2 separate regions of the Homo sapiens genome follow, and region 2 is linked to region 1. The links are contacts of gene promoters, found by promoter capture Hi-C in blood cells and fetal thymus (Javierre and others, 2016). All regions are on one chromosome and are shown on one strand. Each heading gives the region's core, a stretch centred on a gene start or on the middle of the fragment in contact. The rest is flanking DNA. Distances are from core to core; before and after follow the strand shown.

Evidence for each region. Contacts are between HindIII fragments. The CHiCAGO score rates a contact against its expected background, and 5 or more counts as called.
Region 2: a contact is called between a fragment that was not itself captured here and the fragment with the promoter of TMCC2-AS1 in region 1, in 2 of 17 cell types (endothelial precursors and megakaryocytes). The highest score is 5.6, in endothelial precursors.

What each region holds. Positions count from the first base shown.
Region 1 is chr1:205,234,217-205,240,683 of GRCh38, forward strand. TMCC2-AS1 (TMCC2 antisense RNA 1) reads right to left here and starts at 3,075. Exons shown (of 3, transcript NR_183258.1): 1 at 2,968-3,075; 2 at 2,289-2,742. The region is part of intron 1 of TMCC2 (transmembrane and coiled-coil domain family 2); the gene reads left to right. The HindIII fragment of the contact is 7,142 bases long and covers 1-3,310 here.
Region 2 is chr1:204,992,534-204,998,786 of GRCh38, forward strand. It overlaps NFASC (neurofascin), which reads left to right. Exons shown (of 30, transcript NM_001005388.3): 25 at 4,637-4,873. Among named protein-coding and RNA genes, the nearest start is that of CNTN2, 48 kb to the right of the region's middle. The HindIII fragment of the contact is 1,635 bases long and covers 1,991-3,625 here.

The DNA.
Region 1 (6,467 bases), core at 1,825-4,324:
GGGTGGATCATGAGGTCAGGAGATCAAGACCATCCTGGCTAACACAGTGAAACCCCATCTCTACCAAAAATACAGAAAAATTAGCCAGGCATGGTGGCGGGCACCTGTAGTCCCAGCTACTCTGGAGGCTGAGGCAGGAGAATTGCTTGAACCTGGGAGGCGGAGGTTGCAGTGAGCCGAGATCGTGCCACTGCACTCCAGCCTGGGCGACAGAGCGAGACTCTGTCTCAAAAATAAAAAACAAAACAAACAAACAAAAAGGAAATGGGAAATTAGTTATTTGGCCTCACCTCCAGCTGATCTCCAGGTCAAATAGGATGAAATACTTCTAAGAAAACCATCATGGAAATACATAGAAGTTAAAGGGTACTTAGAGCATCATGCAGTGCAATCAGAAACTTATGGGGGTTAATCAGGAAAGTTGTTCTGCAAGAGGTGGGTTTAGAGCAAGATTTTTTTTTTTGAGATGGAATCTCATTCTGTCTCAGGCTGGAGTGCAGTGGCGCAATCTTGGCTCACTGCAGCTTCTGCCTCCCGGGTTCAAGCGGTTCTCCTGTCTCAACCTCCCGAGTAGCTGGGACTATAGGCATGCACCACCAGACCGGGCTAATTTTCTATTTTGAGTAGAGATGGGGTTTCATCATGTTTGCCAGGCTGGTCTGAAACTCCTGACCTCAGGTGATCCACTCTCCTCGGCCTCCCAAAGTGCTGGGATTATAAGCGTGAGCCACTGCGCACGGCCTAGAGCAAGATTTTAAAGAAGGGGTGGGACATTTATTACCAAACAAGAGAAGAGGGGCTTTCTAAATGGGGGAAGTGAGGTAGCAAGTGCTTTTGTAGGGTCTTTGCCCTGTTTGACTAGAATGATCAGGAACAATGGAGGGTAGTGCAAATGCTGAAGTTAACTGTTTTGTCCCGCTTGCACCTTATATGAAGCAGGCAGAGGGTTGGAAGGCCCAGGATTGCCTCCCCCCCACCCCCTCCAGCCTAGGTAATATTCAGAGCAGCCCTCTATGTGGGCTCTGGGGGAACTGGTGACCGATGGGAAAGCATGTGGCAAACGAAACTCCCTGTTCTCCTGCCACATATTGAGTTCTAGATTAATTCCCAGCTGCCCTAGTTGTTCTAGTGGGAACTGTCTGGCAGGCTCAGTATTTACAGAATGTGCTTCTTTTTGTGTATCTAATTATGTCTTCACTGCCAATCCCATTAACAAGAATCTCCTTCAGCAAGGAGTTGAAATATCTGATAGGACCTAAATTTTGGGCTGAAGTTTTCAAAGTGTGGGGTTATCAGGAGCTGGGGAAAAGGGCTCAGGCAGCTTCTCAGTGGTGGTCTTAAAGGCCAACTCAGAACTCATTTCTGTTTTCATCTCTCCCTTAAGAAATGGCATCTGCCTTTGAAATCCCCATAGACTACTAGCATGCTACATTTTTGGAATGAGGCCATAGCTGGACAGGGTCCACCTTTGTCAGCCAAACACTTAAGTCTCTCTTCGTGTAAGAAGTTAGAACAAAGCTGTTGGGGGATAACAGGTATGTTTTGTGACTGTGCTAGAAAAACAGTTATTTGGCTGGGCGCGGTGGCTCACGCCTGTAATCCCAGCACTTTGGGAGGCCGAGGCAGGGGGGTCACGAGGTCAGGAGTTCGAGACCAGCCTGGCCAGCATGGTGAAACCCCGTCTCTACTAAAAATACAAAAAATTAGCCAGGCATGGTGGTGTGCCCGTATAGTCCTAGCTGCTCGGGAGGCTGAGGCAGGAGATTTGCTTGAACCCGGCAGGCAAAGGTTGCAGTGAACGGAGATCACGCCATTACACTCCAGCCTAGGCGACACAGCAGGACTCTGTCTCAAAAAAAAAAAAAAAAAAAGAACAGTTATTTTTAAACCAAATGACTAAAGGCTTCCTTATTCCAGCCAGGTTAACTGAGTGATGTCCACCAGGGAAAACAAATCTGGCTGTAAGGACATGAGCCCCCTCCCAAGCCCTCCCTAAGCCATTTGTGAAGACATCACATACATTCTGGCTCCTTGGTCTGTGTTCATCTCCTTCCAAGCCAACTCAATCTTGGCGGTTACTAAGATAATAGAGTGAGAAGAGGGTTTAAACTGCAGCAGGAGAAATCTGAGTTAGACACAAGAAAAGGCTGTTGGAGCATTTGAAATCTTTGTGAAAGGTTATGTCTTTGGAAAAGGTAGTCATCTAAGGATTAAAATCACCTTTGTAAGATGGATTTGTAGAGACTTGGATAGTGGCTGCTCAGAAAATAAATGAACAAATAATTTACCTAGCTGTCTTCCATGTTGGTGTTGAGGCCTCTGCCAGGTAATGTTAGGGACACAGAGATGTAGGAGCTGTAGCTCCTGCTGTCCAGTCACTCATATTGTCATCAAGGGTTCCATCCGTCAGCAGGTGAGAAGTTGGATAACAGTCAGACAAAGCACTAGAAGCGATGTCACAAGGCAGTACACGATTAATTGCAAAATGAGTGGTGCAGATAATGAGCGCTTATGTGTTCAGAGCAGGGCGAGATCGCTGCAGACTGGTGTGATCAGAGAGGGCTTTATGGAGTGGCGAGGTGGTGAAGGATGGGTAGGATGCAAAGAGGCAGAGAGAGGGCACGCCATGCTGGGAACTTTAATAAAAGTCTTCTATGTTGGTGTGTGCTGAATCAGTTCTGCCTAAAGACATGGTGGATGAGGTGACCTTTTCCCACTTGCTTTGGCTCCAGGCTGAATTCTCTAAGCAATAAAGGAAAGAGGAATCAAAATAAAATTGAGAATGGGGGAATTTTTTGCCCGTGTGCCCATGAGTTGAGTTTTTTTTTTAAAATTTCATCTGTGAGGCTGGGGAATAAATAAATGATTCCAAAAATCTTTCATCACTGGGTTTCCAGTAGAAACTCCAAGTGGGCCTGAACAGTTGCAGCTGCCTACTGTACACCACTGTGATCATCAGCGCCAAACCTGGGGTAATGGTTCCTCTCCTGCTCCCACTCAGGCTCCCCACCCAGAGCTTCTTAAGGGCAATTGGAGACTTCTTCAATCCACTTTGGATCCTAAGAGTAGAACTCTGTGGGTTTTTACAGTGATTAGTTCTCTAATGCTGGCCCTGTTTCCATAGAGACCCTATAAATAGAGGAATGTTGGCGACCTAGGCTGGCAAAGGCTCAGGGTGACCCAGTCACCCCACTGAACCCTCACAGCCAAACTGTTGGTAGGGCGGAAGGAGTTTCAAACCCAGGTAGGAGGAAGGGCTATGCAGTCAGCTGCCAGGTGGGATAATTAGCTATAGATTAGTGTGACTTTAAGCTTTCCTGGGATTTGTTGAGAACACACGTACCTGTAAAAATTAGAAACCACTTTTGGTCATTTTTAACCAGATGGTGCCAATGACACTGTACCCCAAGGCATTTTAGTTTTGTATTCATGCAGCTGTGTTTGCAGATTTTGGAGCAAACTTCCCCTTTGGGGGACCCACACCCAGGGAGAAAGACGGATGAAGCCCAACTGTTCAGAAACCACAGCCTTCTCAGGAAGGATCTTTCAGAAGCCATCTAGTCCTCCCTTTTTTCCTGAAAGGACAGTGCCACCCAAGGAGATGGGGCTCTTCCTGCCCTTTCAGATAGTTCCAGGGGAGGGACAGCCAACTCCCCTCACTTCCTTCCCCGGGGCACCTCACCCTGGGAGGCTCTCCTTTCTGACTACCTTATGGCCAGTTCTGGGGACGGCACTTCTTGCTTCGGTCTTACAGATCATGAAAGCCCTGTTTGTTTGCCACCTCTAACTCTGAAGCATCTCAGCTCTCTAATGCATGGCTTCATTTGGCCACCAAAATGGTTTCTGGCAGCCAGGGAAAAGCAAAAGTCAATGTGGAAAAGCAAGTGACATTTTAGGAGCTGGAACCTGTTAGTCAGAGCAGGTGGTGCTTTCTGCTGCGTTGGCGGCTAAGTTCCCTTAAGCTAGTCACCATGGTTTTCCTCACTTCTGAAACTTGTAGCTGGTTATGTGTATGTGCTGAGTTTTTTTTTTTTAAAACACTTACTGTGTTATGTCAAAACTCCTTAACCATCTCCTCCCTGACACCCACATGCAGAAGCGGCCCAGCCCTTGCGTCACTTTGCTGTTCCCGCCTCGCACCTTATCAGTGAGGAAAAACCCCTTCATTTGGAGTAATCTCCTCTCTCTGCACCTTGTTCTTTGACTTCCTTTTTGTTATTTCCCTCCTGCCTGCCTCAGACTTTAATAGATTCCTCGGTCTGCTGGGACAAAGGTCCTGGGGTCTCCTGGTCACTTTCCCTAGGTTTCCTTCAGCTGCAGGACAGCTCAGGGAGGTGGGAAGTAAAGACTTTATAGTTGAGGGTCTTGTCCCATAACATGGGATGGGCAGGTCACAACAGCAGTTCAGGGGACCTAACAACCCTTGACCCAGGCATTTTTGTTTGGCGCCTGCCTCTGATACTATTCTGGGACACATGCAAATACCCTATCTACTTTAAATCTTAAGTCTTGAAATCAGTGTATGGGCCCATGAAGGTAAATTCAATTAGAAGTCGGGGGTTTCTCTGTGTGGCTTGGATGAGCCACTTAGCTATGCTGTGCCTCCGTTTCTTCATCTGCAAAATAGACACTGATGCTGTGACATCTCACATTCCTAGCTCCTGAGATTAGGCTAGTGTCAGATTATAATGACAGTATAAATCGGAACGCACTTTGCAAAATGCTGTTGTATAAATTTTAAAAGTAAATTGACCAAGGATTTTAGGCTCCAAGGCAATATGGCAGACATCGGTGGCCACCGTAGCTCTCCCCAGCACCTCCACCAGCCTCCCGGGGATAGGGGAGAGGAAATGCCTCAGAACTCTAGGACCTCTGCTGAAGTCTTTAGAAGGGAAACTCTTTCTGCCTGAGTGGATCCTCAGTGTTGGAGAAGCCAGTTTAGGAATGGGGGGAGAAGAGGAAGGGACCTGGAATAGAACGCTAGAAAGACAATTCGTATTATGGAATGTGACGATTTGGCAGAGGCAGCTGGGCAAATGCCAGAGCCAGCTGGCCCCATCACAGTGTCTGGAGGGAGGTCTCACATCAGCTTGGGCCTGGGGAAGGGGGAGGTGTCCTGGCAGGTCCCTGGTCTGAAGGCTGCAGGATCTGGCCTGTTCCAAGTCCATGGCAGAGTTGACATCTTGGTTCTCCCCAGCACAGATTCAGGTGAGCCTTGTGACCCTGCCTCAAGCTGGCCCCCAGGGGATGGTAACTCCTGTGGGAAAAGCTGGCATTGTGTAACTTAAGATCTCGAGGGCTGCCCCAGAATTCAGTTCTTGAGAAGGAATCATGGTAGCCTTAATTTCCTCTTCTCTAAATGGAGATGTTTCCGTTGTTGCTTTTGTTACTATTTAGGAGAATCAATGGGATAATGCAGGATACAAATCTCCTTTGAAATGAAAAACCGTTAGTTCGTGATGAGTTGTGATGATGTAATTTATCTGGTCTGTAAAATGGGTGATGTAAGGGCCTCATCTACTTTAAGGATTCTGGGGATACTCAAATGAGGTGAAAAATGAAAATCCTAAAATTTTACACAAATACATAATAGTACAGTTATTGTATCCAGCTGTAAGCGCAGCCATCTGCACAAACTCAAGGCTGAGTTGTAAAGTAACCTAAGAGTGGGGTCAGCTCATTTAGAGGATGTCAGGTTGCTTTTTCTTGGTTTCTATATGGTCTAGATTTTCTGCTCTGTAAGTTTGTTTCTAGGGAAAAAAAAAAAGAAAATCCAGTCTGTGTAATTTTTTGGAACATTTTTTAAATGACTGAGGCAGCCTGGTAAGATTGTGGGTTGTTCCTCACAGGAAATCCTGCTATGGCTCATTGAGTCCCAAATGGCTGGGCCCTGAGTTTTCCTCTAAGGAGCTGCAGAATGTGAGGTGTCTCCTGGTCCTCCAAGTCTCACCCCTCCTTCCAACAGCTCCAAAGCTCTCATAGAGGGCTCAACCTGGCCGGATAAGCCGTCCCCTGACAGAAGCAGCTGTCTGGAATTATACCACAGTTGCTCGCCCTGGCAGGCCATCCAGCTGCCCCTCTGTGAGCAGTCTTGCCGGAAGAGCAGCTGGAGAATCTCAGCAACAGGGCTAAGAGGAAAGGCTGTGGCCTGGGCGGCACCGGGTTGCAGTGCCTCTATGCTTTGGATCTAAGGGGAAAGACACTCATTTGGATAGCTTGTTCTGATGTGTATGCTAAAGAATTGGTCACATTACTATGTCACAAGGTTTGCTCATAGAAGTAAAGTTTATTTCATTGCCAACCATATCAGGAATGAAATTGGTTGCAAATAACAGAAAATCATACTAGAGTTGTGTAGACAAAGATGGGTTTATTTCATGCAACAAGAATCCCAGGATAGATGTTCACAACTGGTTTGGTGGCTCCATAGACCTTCAAGTTCCCAGGCCTGTCCCTTGGGCTCCACC
Region 2 (6,253 bases), core at 1,558-4,057, 240 kb before region 1:
TCCCCACAAGGTCTGAACACCCCTGTGAAGATGTGAGGCAGAGAGGTGATCCCAGGCCTGGGGAACAGGGTGAGAGCCATCCTTGCCACACTGGGGGCCTCCCTGACTTCCTGCTTGAAGTTTACGTAAGTCTCTCCCGTGACGAAGAGGAAACGCAGGGAGGGCACCAGGCGAATCAGCTGCAAGCTCAATGGGGAAGCAGCTCCCCGTCCACCTCCCCTGTTCTGGCACCCTGGGACCCAAGGCAGGTGGGCCTGGTGGCAGGCAGTCTGTCTTGTTCAGTGGGCATCTGTGCCGGCCTGTGCTGTCCCTCTACTGAGTGGGTGAGAGGTATCTTTGCAATCACCCCACTTCCTACTTCCCATTTAGAAAAGATCTACACTCATCCAGCATGAGCTCACGGTCTCAATCAAATGTTTCCTGGGCTCCAGCTTCCGTGTGACATGGCAGTGGAGGCAGATTGCACTTTTTTGGAAATGAGATGTGCTGATAACATCAGCTGTTCTCAGCTTTAAATGCGTAAGAACCTTCTGCACAATGAGCAGGTGCCAAGCAACGAAACTCGGGTTCCATGTTTCTGACGTGGGCCTGGCGTCCGGCCCACTGCTGTCTTCCCTCTCGTCCTCTCCAAACCTGGGCACTATTTCCCCAAACTGCCCTGTTCATCTCTCACCCAGTGAAGATAATCCCTCTCATCCACCTGTATCTGTAGTCTCTTAGGATTGCTGCCCGTCTGTCTGACAATCTGTGATTTGGCCGGGGTAGTCAACACGCCATGTGGACATTTTTGGACTAAACCTTCCACCTTGGAATGTAAGGAAGTGCTGTTCTCTTCTTTGACCCAGCTCAGGTCTGCAAATGTTTGGTGGGCTCTTGATAGGTGCCCTGTTCCGTGGCAGGTTCTGGGACAGAAAGATGAATGACACATGTCATCTCTCCTCAGTGTTCTCCATCTCATGCATGGTGCTCCCTGAAACCCACCTGGAAAACCCTTGGCCGCAGCCAGGGTGCCTTCCAGTGTGCATTAGGTCACAAACCTGTGAGGTTGACGCTGCCATCTAGGAAGGGCCTTGTGCTTCCAGCCGAAGCCCACTCAGGATCCCCCCTTAGCTAACAGAGAGTCTCTGCCCGCTGTCCTTGGTCGCCAGGCTGATGGTCTCCACTGAGCACTGGCCAGGATTGCTTCCAAACCTGTAGCTCCTATTGCGGCAGGAAATGACATCCTAGCCCAGTCATGTGTCTGCCCAGCCTGGTGCTGCTCTGTTGGTAAGCCCTACTTCTCAGCTTCGTTGCTCTTCTATCCTCTCCTCCACCTCAGCCCCAGGGGATGAAATAATCTGAATCTCCTTAGACCTGAGCAGTGGAAGGTTTTCCCCATGGAACACTTGTCCTCCTCTCGTTCCCACCTGTACTAGCCCCCTGACAGCTCACTGCCTGACTCTTCTGCACCTTCCCTCGGAGGCTTTTCTTCTTTCCTCCACCCTCCCTAGCTCTCTGGAGGCCCTGTCTTGCCTTGGGACAATAGACACAGCTAATGAGTGGGTCGGAGATGTGCCAGCAGTGACCTTAGCCAGCTGAGGTTGTATCCTCTATGGTAACTTCAATGGTGGGAGCCCCGGGGAGGCTGCCGGAAAGTGACCCCTTTCCTCTCTCTCATCTCTTGCTCCCTCTTACTAAGCCTGAGCCAGACAGGAAGCAGCTAGGTAGCCATCATCAGAGAAAAATGCTTCCTTTCTGCCACACTTGGCAGAAGTGGCCATCAGGGGAGGGGACAATGCAGTGTAGAAACATCTTCAGAGCCATCTCTCATCCTTACCTCTGCCCAGCAGGGCCGGTGAGGAAAATGCTGTCACCTGGGCTCTCTTGACACCTCTGTCCCCCAGCTACTCACTGGAACATCCTGGGAAGTGTGTGCCCCCAGCTATGGCCCTGTTGGGGTATGAGTGTGTGTGTGTCTCTGCGAGTCTGAGGGCCACATGAGAGAGTGTAAAGCTTTGGGGAAGACTGACTTGGATTCTGGGGCCTGGGAAATGTAGCACCACTGCACCTGTAGGAAGGGAGGCCCAGGCTCCTGCACTACGCGGTGTGATGATTCAGGTTAAAAGGGAGTGTTTGCTTTTTTGTTTTGTTTTGTTTACTTGAGGCAGAGTCTCGCTCTGTCGCCCAGGCTAGAGTGCAGTGGCTTGATCTCGGCTCACTGCAACCTCCTCCAAAGGGAGTGTTTTCTAATGATGCCTTTTAGATAGTCATGAGAAGGGCTACCTTGTAAGCATTTGATTTGTCAGAAATTATTAGAAAATATACTATTGATAAGGAACTCCGGCAGGTGCACACTTTGGGAGGCTGAGGCTAGAGAATTGCTTGAGCCTGGGAGTTCAAGACCAGCCTGGGTTCCATGACAAAACCCCATCTCTACAAGAAATACACAAATTAGCCAAGCATGGTGGACCTGTAGCTGGACCTATAGTCCCAGCTACTCAGGAGGCTGAGGTGGGAGGATTGCTTGAGCCTGGGAGGTCGAGGCTACAGTAAGCCATGATCACACCACTACACTCCAGCCTGGGTGACAGAGCAAGATCCCGTCTCAATTAAAATAAAAAAAATCAGAGCAGTCCTGCCCAAGTAGACAAAATAATTGCTCCAGGTCTGTGCCAGCAGCACAGAGCAGCGGAAAGAGCCCATGTGTGTCTATGGCCATGAGAGCTGCAGGGAGCAGGCCTGGGAGAGAACTGACCTTTGCCCCATGGGTCTCTCAGGCTTTCCCATGTATGATGTGTGCACAGTGTGTGTGTGTGTGTGTGTGTGTGTGTGTGTGTGTGTATGTGTGTCGGTGGGTGGGGATAAGTGAATTCCCTCTTGTTGAGTGTTTTTAGTGCTGAGATTATATTCCAGGCCTGAGGCCATCCTGGACTGAGCACAGCCCTAAATAAAGAATCTGAGAGGGAGAGTTGCCCCACCGCTCACCCCTCCGCACGCCGCCCTGATGTCTGTGGGTTGACCGGGGTTTGGGGAGTATAGCATTGTGAGCTTTGAGCCTGCCCAGGAACCTCTGGAACGTATGGGGCATAGTCAGCTGCCCAGTGTGACTTCGGTGGCCAGCACCCTCGGGGCACAGTAGTACCTCTGATCTTATTAGCAGGGAAGCAGGAGTATTCCCTCCTTCTCCAAAGAGGGACTTGTAATTTTGGAGACCCAAGGGAATGAAAGGGCTTTTGCTGGGCAGGCTCTGGCTGAGAAGGCTTAGGATCACTTCACTCTCCCTTAAAAAAAGCTCTCTGGCAATTCTTTCTCTGGCATCCCTCCCTGCCCTAGCCCCTTTCTCGGGGATATTATTTTCCTGAGAGATTTGAGGCTGGGTAGGATTCCTTGGGAGTGAGAGTTAGCTGCCTGTGTTTTAAAGTCCCTGCCTACTGCCCCATTAGCGTCAACACTAGAAAGTGGAGTGCTGTCAGATCACAGGAGATCCAGTGCAAGGAGGAGAGGGGGCTTTGTCTCTCTCTGCTTGGCCTCATTCTCATACTCTCAGCTTTAGCAAATATTAGATCTGCGGGTAAGGATAGGGCAGCCCTTTCCATGACCTTCTATATCAGGAAAGAAGACCTGTGAAAAAGTTGTCACATACATAAGCTTAGCCCTCCCAAGCTGACCAACATCCAAGGATAGCTTTGGGTGGGAGATGGGTGTCATGAGAGGGTTAGCCCAGATCTGAACAATTCTGTGCCCCATGAAGATTTATGCAGAAAAGAAGCCCAGCATGCGCCTCACTCTGCCTGGGACTCCTCTGTCTGCTGTGGGCTGGGAAGGTGGTGCTGCTGAGTGCGGGTTATTCCATTAGCTCCCTCTTCCCATGTTCTCATGTGAATAGAAAGCACCTGGGGTACCTGGACCCAAAGTTCCTAGAGAGAAAGGCAGTTATAAGAAGTGTCACTTTGGATTAGGGTGGTTGCAGGAAGGGCTACCACTGAGCAGAGAAGGGAAAGAGAGGGAGGAGAGGCAGGGGAATGACCGAGGAGAGCCAAGACCGGAGGAGGGCGAGGGCAGGCAGAACGCCGTGCAAGGCTCACCCGCGCAGAGTGGAGATTGTTCCCTCTCTGTCATCGGGTTTGGGTGGCTGTTTGGGCTCATGCAGGCATGACAAAGGGTGATTTTGGAGTGATTGGTTGGGAATGGCAGGCCACTCTAGGCCTCTGCTGGACAGGGCCCCACCGCCTGCCCACCTCTAGGCTGGGGCTCCAGGGCTGGACCCAACTGGTGCTGCTTGGGCCTGTGTCTGGGTGGCATCTGGCCAGTGTTTGGCCTGGGGCTCCATGCCATCCCTGGGGTCTGAGCGATTCAGCCCGTGCCCCCTTCCCGTCTCATCCTCACGCATCCTTGGCTGGGTGCATGCTGGGTGTTTCGAGCCACGCAGACCATGAGAAGAAAATGAAACACACACAGGGCTTCATTCTCTTCCTCTCCCATGGTTGTGTCTTCTGTTGCTGCGACCCGTCTGACCCAGTCCGTTATGCTTGGGGAGGCTCCTGATGACTAAGCCCCGTCTCCTCACCGGGCTGCCTGCCTTGCACGCGGGGGCCGTGTGTCCAGGCTGGGCACAGCCAAACCAACCAGACTCGGCTGTTTTACATTTCCCTCTCAGCTCCTCCCACATTGCCCCCGACTACCGTGGGTGCGACGGGCGCTGTGAGCAGTACCGATGCTACTGCCATTGCTGCCACCACCGAAGCCACAACAGTCCCCATCATCCCAACTGTCGCACCTACCACCATCGCCACCACCACCACCGTCGCCACAACTACTACAACCACTGCTGCCGCCACCACCACCACGGAGAGTCCTCCCACCACCACCTCCGGGACTAAGATACACGAATCCGGTACTGCGCATCGCCCATGCTCCCCATCCCCTCCTGGCCCGCCTCCCCAGCGGCCTCCAGACGAACCCACAGGCTCCCCCAGCGAGGAGGTGGGGTCTGGGGTGGTGTTTGCCACCACCTCCCTTTGTGTTTCCTTTGGAAACTCACCCGTGACTGGATGCTCAGTCCCGTAGCCTGGAGGCCCAGATCTCCCCAGCCTGGCCCTGACACACACACACTCCTTGGGTGGTCCTCCACCACTCAGTACCCCAAATTCTAGCTTCAGATCCCTGTTCCTTAACAGACGGCCAAGCTCCTTGGGCAGGGCCCCCAGGTTCCAGATGTTAGGACCGCCTCCAGCTACATGTCAGGCAGTCAGCTCAGAGCCGAGCACTCCAGAAGGAAGACAGCGTGAGGAGGGGAAAAGGACCAGATACTGTACAGCTGGCCTGAGGGAGTTTCCTGCCCTGGCCACGTCTGCGTCCGGCCTAGAGGCTGAGCAGCAGGGAGTGGCTGTGCCAGGCAGCTCTGTTCCCAGAACCCCTGTCCCTTCCTTGCCTCTCCTTCCGCGAGGAACACTTACAGACTTTTCTTTTACAAAGTCAGAGCTTCCAGGAAACTGTATTGCCAAGGAGGCCCTTAATGCCAAACTCACATTCCCCAAGCCCTCAAATGCAGGCATGGAGGGAAAATTACGGGCATTCTCAGAGCCCCTGGTAAGAATCGATCCCAGGGCTGGTACGCTGAGCCACGAGAATGCACTGTTCCTGTATCATGCAGCCAGGCCAGGAAGCTCTGTTCTTCCAGTTCGGGGAGACCCCAGGGGAATTCAGCGATACTTCCAAGCACTGAGCATCAGTCTTTTATTACCAACAAGGGGAAGGTCTGTAGCTTCCTGAGCTCACAGGCCAGCTATAAAATCAGCGTGAGGCAGCCAGGAAGCACCCAGAACTCTTCTGCCACAGTTGTAGAATTGTAGGACCCAGTGGGCACCACCTTTGTCTCCTGGGCAAGTCCCTTTACCTTCCAAGGCCTCCTTTCTCCCACCCTGCTCCACTTTTCTCAGCCTCCTGAATGAGGATGGAGGCTTAATAGACATGAGAGGATTTTGTTTTCAGTTCAATGACATAGAGTTAAGTGAGCTGTCAGGGAAGACGAGAGGCATAGCTGCTGTGAGCTCCTGAGACCCTGAAAATGCTGGTTTGCTTCACAGGTGCCATCTAGAACTTAACAGGCACTTTCGGAAAAAGTTGGCTGAGGAGGAACCTGCTGGGGTATTAGAAGCTGCCACCAGCGGGTTGGTGATTGATGTTCTTTGGGGCCACGGTGAGGCATCTTTTTCATTAAAAAGTGGGGCTTTGTGTCCTACAAGTGCTTTGAGTTCAGAGAAAAGATGAACCA